Linked DNA regions of Homo sapiens: regions 1 and 3 are each linked to region 2. Evidence: promoter capture Hi-C in 16 types of primary human blood cells and fetal thymus (Javierre and others, 2016). All regions are on one chromosome and are shown on one strand. The core of a region is centred on a gene start or on the middle of the fragment in contact, and the rest is flanking DNA. Distances in the headings are between cores, read along the strand shown. Region 1 overlaps NASP (nuclear autoantigenic sperm protein). Region 2 holds the start of P3R3URF (PIK3R3 upstream open reading frame). Region 3 overlaps GPBP1L1 (GC-rich promoter binding protein 1 like 1).

Region 1 (3,547 bases), core at 857-3,356, 560 kb after region 2:
GAAGAGAGTAGGAGAGTATAAAATGGAAAATGCATTACCAGATTCAACACTAACTTCTCCGAGTTTAAGATGTGCCTGGGCAGCATAAAGCTGTGCTTCTTTTGTTTCTTGCCTAAAAGAAGGAAAATTGATCAAAAACCTTAACAGTACCTGTCTAACCCTAACTGGTTTCTATTTAACCACCAAACTCCCAACCCAAGCCTAGAAGCACCAAGAGTTTTACCTTTTAAAAATGATCTTTGCTAAATCCAGCATATCCCAGGCAAGCTCTAGGTTCCCAATCTCCTCCTCCTCATTTTCTTGAAGAGACTAAAGTATAACCAAATAATAAAAAGATAGGCATCTTTTTCAAATACAAATCTAAATGTATAACTTAGCGTAGCTTAAAAAAAGTTGATATACGATTCAAAATTTGGACTTTCTCCCTAAAATCTAGAGAATGGGTCCACATACTGTCTTAAGTCATGACCATGTCACTGATATTTTAACAGTGAAATGTTGGCTCACATACTAACACACAAGAACCCCAGGATCAAATATATCCACCCATCCTAGGCATGAATAAAGGGTCCCTAATCCATAATCAAGAGACAGTTATCTATAATAATCATGCCTAGGGCTGGGCATGGTGGGTTATGCCTATAATCCCAACACTTTGGGAGGCTGAGGCAGGAGAATAACTTGAAGCCAGGTTTGAGACCAGCCTGGGCAGCACAGCAAGACAGCCGTCTAAACAAAATAAAATTAGAGAACAAATTAGCCAGACATGGTGGCAGACATCTGGAGACCTAGCTATCTGAGAAGATGAGGCAGAAGGATTCCTTGAACCCAGGAGGCTAAAGATACAGTGAGCCCTGATCATGCCAGTGCACTCCGGCCTGGGCAGAGACAGAGATTCTATCTCTTAAAAAAATAATAATCGTGCCTAAACTAGGTAAGCTACAGTCCTGCAAACTAGCTGGGCATGTTGGCACAAGCCTGTAGTCCCAGCTACTTGAGAGGCTGAGGTGAGGCGATCACTTAAGCCCGGGTCTAGGCTGCAGTGAGCCATGATCATGATCACCCCACTGCAATCCAGCCTAGGCAACAAGAGTGAGCTCCAGTCTCCCAAAAACAGAAAAAGGCTGACAACAGTACTGAGTGGCTAACAACATACCTTGTTTTCAAGGACTGAATCATTTGGCATTTCTTCGGTCTTATCATTTTCTTTATCATCCTCTTCTGAGCCTTCAGTTTCTACAAGTAAAAATTCCTCAGTATTGAGAATATAACTAAGAACGTATTCTGACTAGTCAGAGATTCCAATACACGTCTCAACCTATATTCAGATAGGACAGGCCAGATGCTAATCCAAGTGAGTTAACACCTGAACTGAATATATCGTCAGTGGGTGCAGTCTAGTTCAAGTGTAACCTAGACTAAGAATGTGCAATCTTAGTCTATGGGTCAGACCTTCAGCAATTAAAAGGCTGAGTGTTTCTCTTATAAAAGTCAACCTGGACCATTCAGAATAAGAAACATTGGCTACTGCCTCTTATTCAATGGCTAGAAGCTCCCATTCATTCAGCCAGAAGCAGGTGGAGACCTCAGTCAGTGTTTCTGGTATCTTTAAGCCACTCATTAGATAATACTAATAGCCTGGGAAAGTACGAAAGTTAAATTATTCCAGTCCATTCTGATCAAGAATGCTCAAGAGACTAGCTTTCCCACAACAGAGATGTGGAGCAAAAAGCATAGTCCTTACCGACTTACACCAATGAGCATGCCACAGACTCCAGCCAGCTCTAGCACATACAGAATTTGAGTAAGGAATACTATAACCCCTATTTTACTCCTATACCTTTGCTAATGACACCTCTAAAATCTGCAGCCATATATCAACACCATATTTCACCATATTGAATACACTCACAAGTCAACCATCTAAAGGTCAGGCTCCTAATCAATAGCGCTACTGTGATTAGACAAATCAACAATGTTAAGTGATTAAAATAAGCTTTCTGTTAACACAAACAACTCATGAATTGGATATAATATGCCTCTCTCTGCCATCTTTCATTATGCATTTTTAACACCAGCAAAAAAGCTCAAACACTATCTCCAAACACTCTTACTATGGGAATATAAATATGGCAATTAGGACTTAGAGCAATCGTCAGGTCAAAGGAGTTTTATCAGCAGCAACCACAAAGAGATTCCGTTTTCAAAGAAGCTTAGAAAATACTTTAACAGGGTCAGGCGCGGTGACTCACGCCTGTAATCCCAGCTCTTTGGGAGGCCGAGGCGGGCGGATCACGAGGTCAGGAGATTGAGACCATCCTGGCGAACATGGTGAAACCCCGTCTCTACTAAAAAAAAAAACCAAAAAACAAAAAAATTAGCCAGGTGTGGTGGCAGGCGCATGTAGTCCCAGCTACTTGGGAGGCTGAGGCAGGAGCATGGCGTGAACCCAGGAGGTGGAGCTTGCAGTGAGCGGATTATCGCACCACTGCACTCCAGCCTGGGTGACAGAGCAAGACTCCGTCTCAAAAAAAAAAAAAAAAAAAAAAGATACTTTAACAAATTTACTGAGGACATCAGGGCATTGCCATTGATACCTGGGCACAAGTTGGGAAAGGTTTTAAAGTAATGGCAATGGCTGCCAGGCGCGGTGGCTCACACCTGTAATCCTAGCACTTTGGGAGGCCAAGGTGGGCAGATCACCAGGTCAGGAGATTGGGACCATCCTGGCTAACACGGTGAAACCCCGTCTCTACTAAAAATACAAAAAATTAGCCAGGCGTGGTGGCACATGCCTGTAGTCCCAGCTACTCGGGAGGCGGAGGCAGAACAATCACTTGAACCTAGGAGGCGGAGGTTGCAGTGAGCCTAGATCACGCCACTGCATTCCAGCCTGGGTGACAGAGCAAGACTCTGTCTCAAAAAAAAAAAAAAAAAAAAAAAAAAAAGTAATGGCGATGGCTTTCTCCTTAACCTAGCTCCCCACCATTCCTTGAAGATGGTACAGATTCCTCAAGAGGAACCAGTAATATTCTTCTGAAGCAATTATAGGAATTTTAATTTAAAAATTTGATGTAAAACTTCCAAGTAATTAAGATATTTTGTTTCAAATTAGAGGTTGTCTTCTAGTATTCTGGTATGAGTAGGAAGAGATACCAGGTAAGAATAGAAGATAACAATATCAATTTAATTTTTCCTACAAATTGGGAAGATGAAGTATTTACTTTTCTATCAATTATCCTACATATGTAAATCTACTTCAGCTTTTCTGCATATTCTGCTAGAGGATGGGCAGAGTTAATAAGACCATCCATCTGGTCTAACTTTGGGGAACTAAGCCCGGACCCACTTGGAAATGTGGATATGAGAAGATAATGGTGTATGGTGGGCCAGGTGCAATGGTTCACACCTGTAATCCCAGCACTCTGGGAGGCTGAGGCTAGTGGATCACCTGAGGTCAGGAGTTCGAGACCAACCTGGCCAGCATGGTGAAATCCCATCTCTAGTAAAAATACAAAAAAATTAGTCGGGCCTGGGGACATGTGCC
Region 2 (3,474 bases), core at 921-3,420:
AGGCCTTGGTCTGACCTGAGGAAGAGGAGGAGCAGGGGCAGGTCGGTTTATAGTTACAGTTGCTAGAAGTTGGTGGAAGCAAGGTCATATTTTAAGACTGAGGATGGCAAGAGTAGAGGCTGGAGGAGGGGATGGGGGAAAGATGAGGTTTGTGAGGGTGGTACTAAGGGTGCCACAGAGTCCTCCACAAACAGAAAGGAGGATGAAGTTGGGAAGGGGGCATTTGAGGAGCAGAGTAAGGGGGAAAGGAAGAAGGGACTGAGGAGTGGAAGGAGAAGGAGAAGGTCTATTTTTTTTTTTTTTGACAGAATCTCACTCTGTTGCCCAGGCTGGAATGCAGTGGCGCAATCTTGGCTCACTGCAACCTCCGCCTCCCAGTTTCAAGCGATTCTCCTGCCTCAGCCTCCTGAGTAGCTGGTATTATAGGTGCACACCACCACACCCAGCTAATTTTTGTATTTTTAGTAGAGACAGGGTTTCACCATGTTGACCAGGCTGCTCTCGAGCTCCTGACCTCAAGTCATCCACCCACCTCGGGCTCCCAAAGTGCTGGGATTACAGGCGTGAGCCACCGCACCTGGAACCTTTCTGTTTCATTCTCAGGAAGAATTGGGACCAGATTACATTCATCTATGGCCCTGGTGCTTGGCACATAAGAAGTTGTCAGTGAACATTTCCTGAGTGAATGAGTGCAGAATAATGAGAGTTAAGTGCTCTGGGTTTTGGATCTTGATCATCATGGATTTGCTTCCTGCCTGCCTCTAATTGTGTGACTTCACCTCACTGAGCCCCAGTTTCCTTATACAGTGGATCCTCCTTATTCACAGATTCCATACCTGTGAATTTGCCTGCTTACTGAAATTTATTTGTAATTCCCAAACCAGTACTTGTGGTACTTTTGCAGTCATTCATGGACATGAGCAGAAAGGCAAAAAATTTCAGCCGTCCAACACACGTATTTCCAGCTGAGGTCTGTTGAGCAAGAGGACTCTCTGTCTTCTTATTTCAGTTTTCATAGAGTAAACAAATGTGCTTTTTGGTGGTCTATTTAGTGACGCATATTCTCACATTTTTTGGTGTTTTTTGCTGGTGATTTTACTGTCTAAAATGGTCCCCAGTTGTAGTGCTGAAGTGCTCTCTAGTCTTTCTAAGTGCAAGAAGGCTGTGATGTGCCTTATAGGGGAAATATGTGCTTTAGATAAGTTTCATTCAGGCACAAGTTATAATGCTGTTGGCTGTGAGTTCAATGTCAATGACTCAAATATAGATAGATAGTTAGATAGATAGATAGATAGATAGATAGATATATTTTTTTTTTTTTTGAGACAGAGTTTCACTCTTGTTGCCCAGGCTGGAGTGCAATGGTGCAATCTGGGCTCACTGCAATCTCCACCTCCTGGGTTCAAGCTATTCTCCTGTCTCAGCCTCCTGAGTAGCTGGGACTACAGGCACCCACCACCACACCCAGCTAATTTTTGTATTTTTAGTAGAGATGGGGTTTTGCCATGTTAACCAGGCTAGTCTTGAACTCCTGACCTCAGGTGATCTGCCCACCTCGGCCTCCCAAAGTGCTGGGATTACAGGCTTGAGCCACCATGCCTGGCCAACAATATATATTAAATAAGGTGTCTCCACACATAAAATCAGGTTATATGTATAGATCAGTTGACAAAAATATTGTGACCAGAGGGTTTCAGGAACCTAACCTTGCATTTACCCTTTGTTCAGTATTTAGTGTTTGTGGCGACTTTATAGAACATTACTGGGAATAATGAGAATTGACTGTATATAAATAGGTATAATGATGGCATATCCTTGTAAAGTAGCTGAGATTAAATGAGATAACGTTGGTAAAGTGCTCAGCACAGTGTCTGGCACGTAGTAAGTGCTCAAAAAACATTGTTAATATTGTTACTATATGGATAAGTGAGAAAGTGAGGAAGTGAGTTCCGCCTCTAGGGCCTCTTTTCCCAAGGGGCCAAACTGAGGCTGTCTGGCTCTTGGGCTGGCTTTTAGGCCAGACCCAATAAAGAAGATTGTGAAGGAGCCTGACCCATGAGGAGGGGCCAGGGCCCACGACTTGTAATAAAGGGCCCTGCCCTTATGCAGACTTTGTATGTCATAGAGGCCTCAGCTACCCTGGCCAACAGCACCCCCCAGGCACACTGCAGAAGCTCCCTGTGCCCATGGGGCCATCTCGGCTTGTCCGTGGCCCTCGGCCCCAGGGCATGCGTTCCCCCTACCGCAGGCCAGGTATGGGCTGGCCCAGGCCCCGATTTCCCAGGATGTTCAAGTGTAGCCGCAGAAGATATCAACAGGGTCTCCGAGGTCGAACTGCCAGCAGTGCAGCCATCAATCCTGCCACCAGGGCCATGGGTATCAACAACACCCACACTGACACCACCATAGTGTGGATCTTCCCACCTCAAGGTTAGCCAGGGGGCCTGTGAGCCAGGGTGGGGTTTTAAAAAACAGAGCCACTAGGCTGGGTGCGGTGGCTCATGCCTGTAATCCCGGCACTTTGGGAGGCCAAGGCGGGCAGATCACAAGGTCAGGAGATCGAGACCATCCTGGCTAACACGGTGAAATCCCATCTCTACTAAAAATACAAAAAAAAATTAGCCGGGCGTGGTGGCACACGCCTTTAGTCCCAGCTACTTGGGAGGCTGAGGCAGGAGAATTGCTTGAACCCGGGAGGCAGAGGTTGCAGTGAGCCAAGATCGCGCCACTGCACTCCAGCCTGGGTGACAGAGCTAGACTCTGTCTCAAGAAAAAAAAAAAAAAACCAGAGCCAGTGAAGATTTCCCTACCTGGTTCTGTTTAGGCACGCCAAAGGATGATCTCTGTGAAATAGCACCCCTACATATATGGGGGACTCCTGATGGCAGGCACCCCAAAGTGCTGACAGCCTTAATGGAGGATGGATTGGCTGGAAGCAGAGGGTTTGGGGAGGGGCTGAATCCAAGAGGCAGGGAACTTCCAGAACTGCTTCCTTCCTCAAACTCTTCCCTCTCCTTCCTCTCCTCAGTTCTCAGACATCTCAGGCAACCTGGGATTTTTCTGATCCTCTAGAAGTGCCCAGAAGCTAGCCCAGAAGCTTGGTTTGCCCTGGACCTGCATCTCCTAGGGGCCGTGTGGGTGGTGAACAACAAATACAGTCATTCTGCTCAAACTGCCTTATTCCACACAGAGGTGTTAACCAGCTGACTATGCAGGGCGTGAGGGGAGGGTTATGGCTGAATACTTACAGGGAAAGGCTTCAGTGACCGCAGCAGGGATCATAGTTTAAGACAGCAGGAGGACAGGACAAGGTCAGCAACATAGACCATCTTTGGTCTCAGCTCTTGATCTGCCCCATGAAGTAGGGGCTCTCTTGCCTTACACTCCTAACTGCACAGGGAGAAGGGTCTCTGTAAACATCTTGGAAGGTATTGGGAGGCACAGATCAGAGAGGGATAGGATGAAAGACTGAAC
Region 3 (3,376 bases), core at 836-3,335, 530 kb after region 2:
AAAATTTAAAAATTAGCTGGACGTGGTGGGTACCTGGTAGTCCCAGCTACTCAGGGGGCTGAGGTGGGAGGATTGCTTGAGTCTGGCAGGTCGTAGCTGCAGTGAGCCCAGATGGCACCACTTCATTCCACCCTGGGTAACAGAGTGAGACCCTGTCTCAAAAAAAAAGAAAAAAACATACACACAGACATATATGCATACATACAAGGAGCAGCCACTACCCTTAGGGCTAAGACAGTGTGTCCAAGAATGAGTCCCCCATTTCCCTACCACCACCCCAGGGCTGAGATTCATACCTGGTTAGAAAGGGCTCAGTTGTGGCTCACTGAATGGCAGAGTAATTGCTGATGTGCTTCTCTGGGGAAGCGTGCTGAAAGGCTTTTCATGAGAGGTGTCACTCTGCTACAAAACTACTCAGATGAGGTGCTGAGGGAAGCTGCTGGTCTCTGAGCTCACTTATATGTCAGAACCTGGCTTTGAGGAACTGGGTGCTGTGGGAGCCTGCTGAAAAACACACAGGAACAGGAAGTAAAAATCTCTCCATTGTTCTCCGCTGGCAGAAGTTAACATGCCAGCTGTCAAAGGAAAAGTTTTAAAGTGTCCAGGCACATTTTTGCTCAACAGGCAGAAGGGATGACTTTGTGACTAAGAAGCGGTAACCAGCACAGGGTTCTATCGTTGTTCATGCTAGCTGGCCACTATACCCTTCCAGAACAAAGCCCGTCACTGAGGACAAACTGTTGGAAATATAATCCAGATTGAGCTGCAGAGAGACAAGTTAGTAGAGACGAAAGGAAAGGTTCAGATAAAAGCGGTAGGGAGAAGATAACCAGGACATTAAAGAACGTAAACCCGGGAGGCAGAGGTTGCAGTGAGCCAAGATCGCACCATTGCACTCCGGCCTGGGCAACAAGAGTATGAAACTTGGTCTCAGAAAAAAAAAAAAAAAAATCCTAAGAAGTTGGTTTAAAAAAAAAAATCATCTGGGAAAACTCAAAATAAGGGGCTAGAACTCTTGAAAAGAAGTAATAATAAAAAATTTCAGAAAAATACTGAAGAATAAAGAGAATAAATAATATTTTTCAAGAATTAGACAGCGAAGGAAAATTTTTTAAATGAAGGAGAAATACATAGGTAAAAAATTAAAACTGGGAAAAAAAAGTTTGGCAGAAAAGATCTAATATAGATATATAATAGGATCTTCCCACCCCGCCCCCAGAAAGAAAACCAAAATAAAGGAATAGCTTAAATACTGACAAGTGGCCGGGTACGGTGGCTCACACCTGTAATCCCAGCAGTTTGGGAGGCCGAGGGGGGCAGATCACGAGGTCAGGAGATCGAGACCATCCTGACTAACATGTTGAAACCCTGTCTCTACTAAAAATACAAAAAATTAGCCAGGCATGGTGGCGGGCGCCTGTAGTCCTAGCTACTCGGGAGGCTGTGAGGCAGGAGAATGGCGTGAACCCGGGAGGTGGAGCTTGCAGTGAGCTGAGATCGCGCCACTGCACTCCAGCCTGGGGACAGAGTGAGACTCCGTCTCAAAAAAAAAAAAAATACTGAAAAGTATAATTCAGGAACATTTTTCTGAAATACATTTAGATTTGAATCTACAAATTGAAAGGATAGCCAGGATGACTAAGACATACTCTTACAAAATACTAGACTTGAACAAAAAAAGAAAGATATCCTTTGGCCATTCAGGCATAAAGACTGAGTTGTTAAGAGAAAGAAAACCAGATAGACTGTGACAGCAAAGCTTTATAACAAGTAAATGGAGTAACAATTACAATAAAGAAAATGTGAGCCAAAGATTTTGTGCTTTGTCAAGCTAATGTTCAGTTATAAAGATCACAGACAAACATCAATGTGTAAGTACTTGGAATATTGCTCTTTCCGGCATTGTTTCGCGCTGCCACAATGGTGTGTGTGAACATCCTACCTGTTGCTCTCAAGAGTATCACCAATGCCGAAAAGAGAGGGAAACGCCGGTTCTTACTAGGCCATGCTCCAAAGTCATTGTCCAACTTCTAGCTGTGATGATGAAGCATCGTTACATTGGCAAATTTGAAATCATTGATGATAACAGAGCTGGGAAAATTGTGAACCTCACAGGCAGGCTAAACAAGTGTAGAGCCCCAGCTTTGATTTGCAACTCAAAGATCTAGAAAAACGGCAGAACAATCTGCTTCTATCCCAACCATTTGACTTCGTCATATTGACAGCCTTAGCTGGTATCATGGACCATGAAGAAGCAAGACGAAAACACACAGGAGGGAAAATCCTTGGATTTTGTTTCTAGGGATGCAATACATATTTACAAATAAAATGCCTCAAAAAAAAAAAAAACAAAAAACTTCGGAATATCGTTCCCAAGACTTTTCCTGAGAACTACTGAAGAACAAGCTTCTGACAAACTAACCAGAAAGATTACAAAAGGAATGGTGGTAAATACTAAATGTATGGTTAATTGTAGAGCTAAGAAGAAATGAGGGTTAAAAGAGAGTTAGCATGTGATAGTTATATGATCTCACAATCTGGACATAGTATAACTTTTTTAAAGTGGGAAGATGGGGAGAACATGTCCAAAAAAAACAAAACATTTTGGTCACTGGTGAAATACTGACATTGCTATTCTGAAACTTGTGCATAATATGGAATAAAGCAATTAAATATGATATTCTATACTTTGTATGCTTGAGAATCAGGATTCTTGTAGGAGGAAATAAAAACGTAAAATAGATGTTCCGTAAAATCCACAAGGGTACTCAGTTTGAATTGGGAATATCAGTAATAAGTTATGAGGTGTTTTAGCTTTGGAGTGAAAAATACATACTTCTAGGCGGTTCTGTCCACTGAAAAGACATAAAAACAGTGAACAACCCCATAGCAATGAGTGGCTCTACTGCCTGGATTGTGATCTTGAAATAGTTTATCCAGACAGCATACTTAAAAGAAGAGCTTGGAATATTTTTTCAAACTAGATAACAAAGAAGTAAAGAACTACTTAGGGTTGTAGCAAAAGGATTTAGAAGCCAAATTGAAGAGGGTTCCATAGGCCAAACATGGGACAGTTTTATGCATCAATTAATAATAATAACGACGAGGGTTGAATCACATCAAATTGGATTTAAATCTGTGAATTCACAATGATACCTACCTCACCTTAGGAACAAGCATGTATCATATTTTTTCTATATGAACTGTACTGTTGAATTGCCAAATAGGGGAAGTTCCTATTTATGGAAGTATACTACTTTATAAAGAATTGTAAAATTAGATCATTGTTTTTGCATCTTGTATTGAGCTGACAGTTTTAGGCTATGAGCACCAGTGTCTGCCAGCATCACTAAAAGAAGCACAACCACATGTTATT

Evidence for each region. The method cuts DNA at HindIII sites, captures the fragments that hold promoters and counts their contacts. A CHiCAGO score of 5 or more calls a contact.
Region 1: a contact is called between a fragment that was not itself captured here and the fragment with the promoter of P3R3URF in region 2, in 4 of 17 cell types (erythroblasts, M1 macrophages, fetal thymus and 1 more). The highest score is 9.1, in erythroblasts.
Region 3: a fragment that was not itself captured here is called in contact with the fragment with the promoter of P3R3URF in region 2 in 3 of 17 cell types (endothelial precursors, M0 macrophages and erythroblasts); the score reaches 9.6 in endothelial precursors.

The regions. Positions count from the first base shown.
Region 1 is chr1:45,610,858-45,614,404 of GRCh38, reverse strand. NASP (nuclear autoantigenic sperm protein) reads right to left here. Exons shown (of 15, transcript NM_002482.4): 7 at 1,157-1,236; 8 at 224-309; 9 at 39-112. Among named protein-coding and RNA genes, the nearest start is that of CCDC17, 11 kb to the left of the region's middle. The HindIII fragment of the contact is 216 bases long and covers 1,999-2,214 here.
Region 2 is chr1:46,175,184-46,178,657 of GRCh38, reverse strand. P3R3URF (PIK3R3 upstream open reading frame) reads left to right here and starts at 2,170. Exons shown (of 2, transcript NM_001328655.2): 1 at 2,170-2,430; 2 at 3,029-3,172. The coding sequence starts at 2,187. The coding sequence ends at 3,072. It overlaps P3R3URF-PIK3R3 (P3R3URF-PIK3R3 readthrough), which reads left to right and starts at 2,170. Exons shown (of 10, transcript NM_001303427.2): 1 at 2,170-2,430. The coding sequence starts at 2,187. It overlaps TSPAN1 (tetraspanin 1), which reads right to left. Exons shown (of 9, transcript NM_005727.4): 1 at 3,249-3,474. The HindIII fragment of the contact is 5,416 bases long and covers 1-3,099 here.
Region 3 is chr1:45,644,742-45,648,117 of GRCh38, reverse strand. The region is part of intron 6 of GPBP1L1 (GC-rich promoter binding protein 1 like 1); the gene reads left to right. It also overlaps the pseudogene RPS15AP10. Among named protein-coding and RNA genes, the nearest start is that of CCDC17, 22 kb to the right of the region's middle. The HindIII fragment of the contact is 647 bases long and covers 1,762-2,408 here.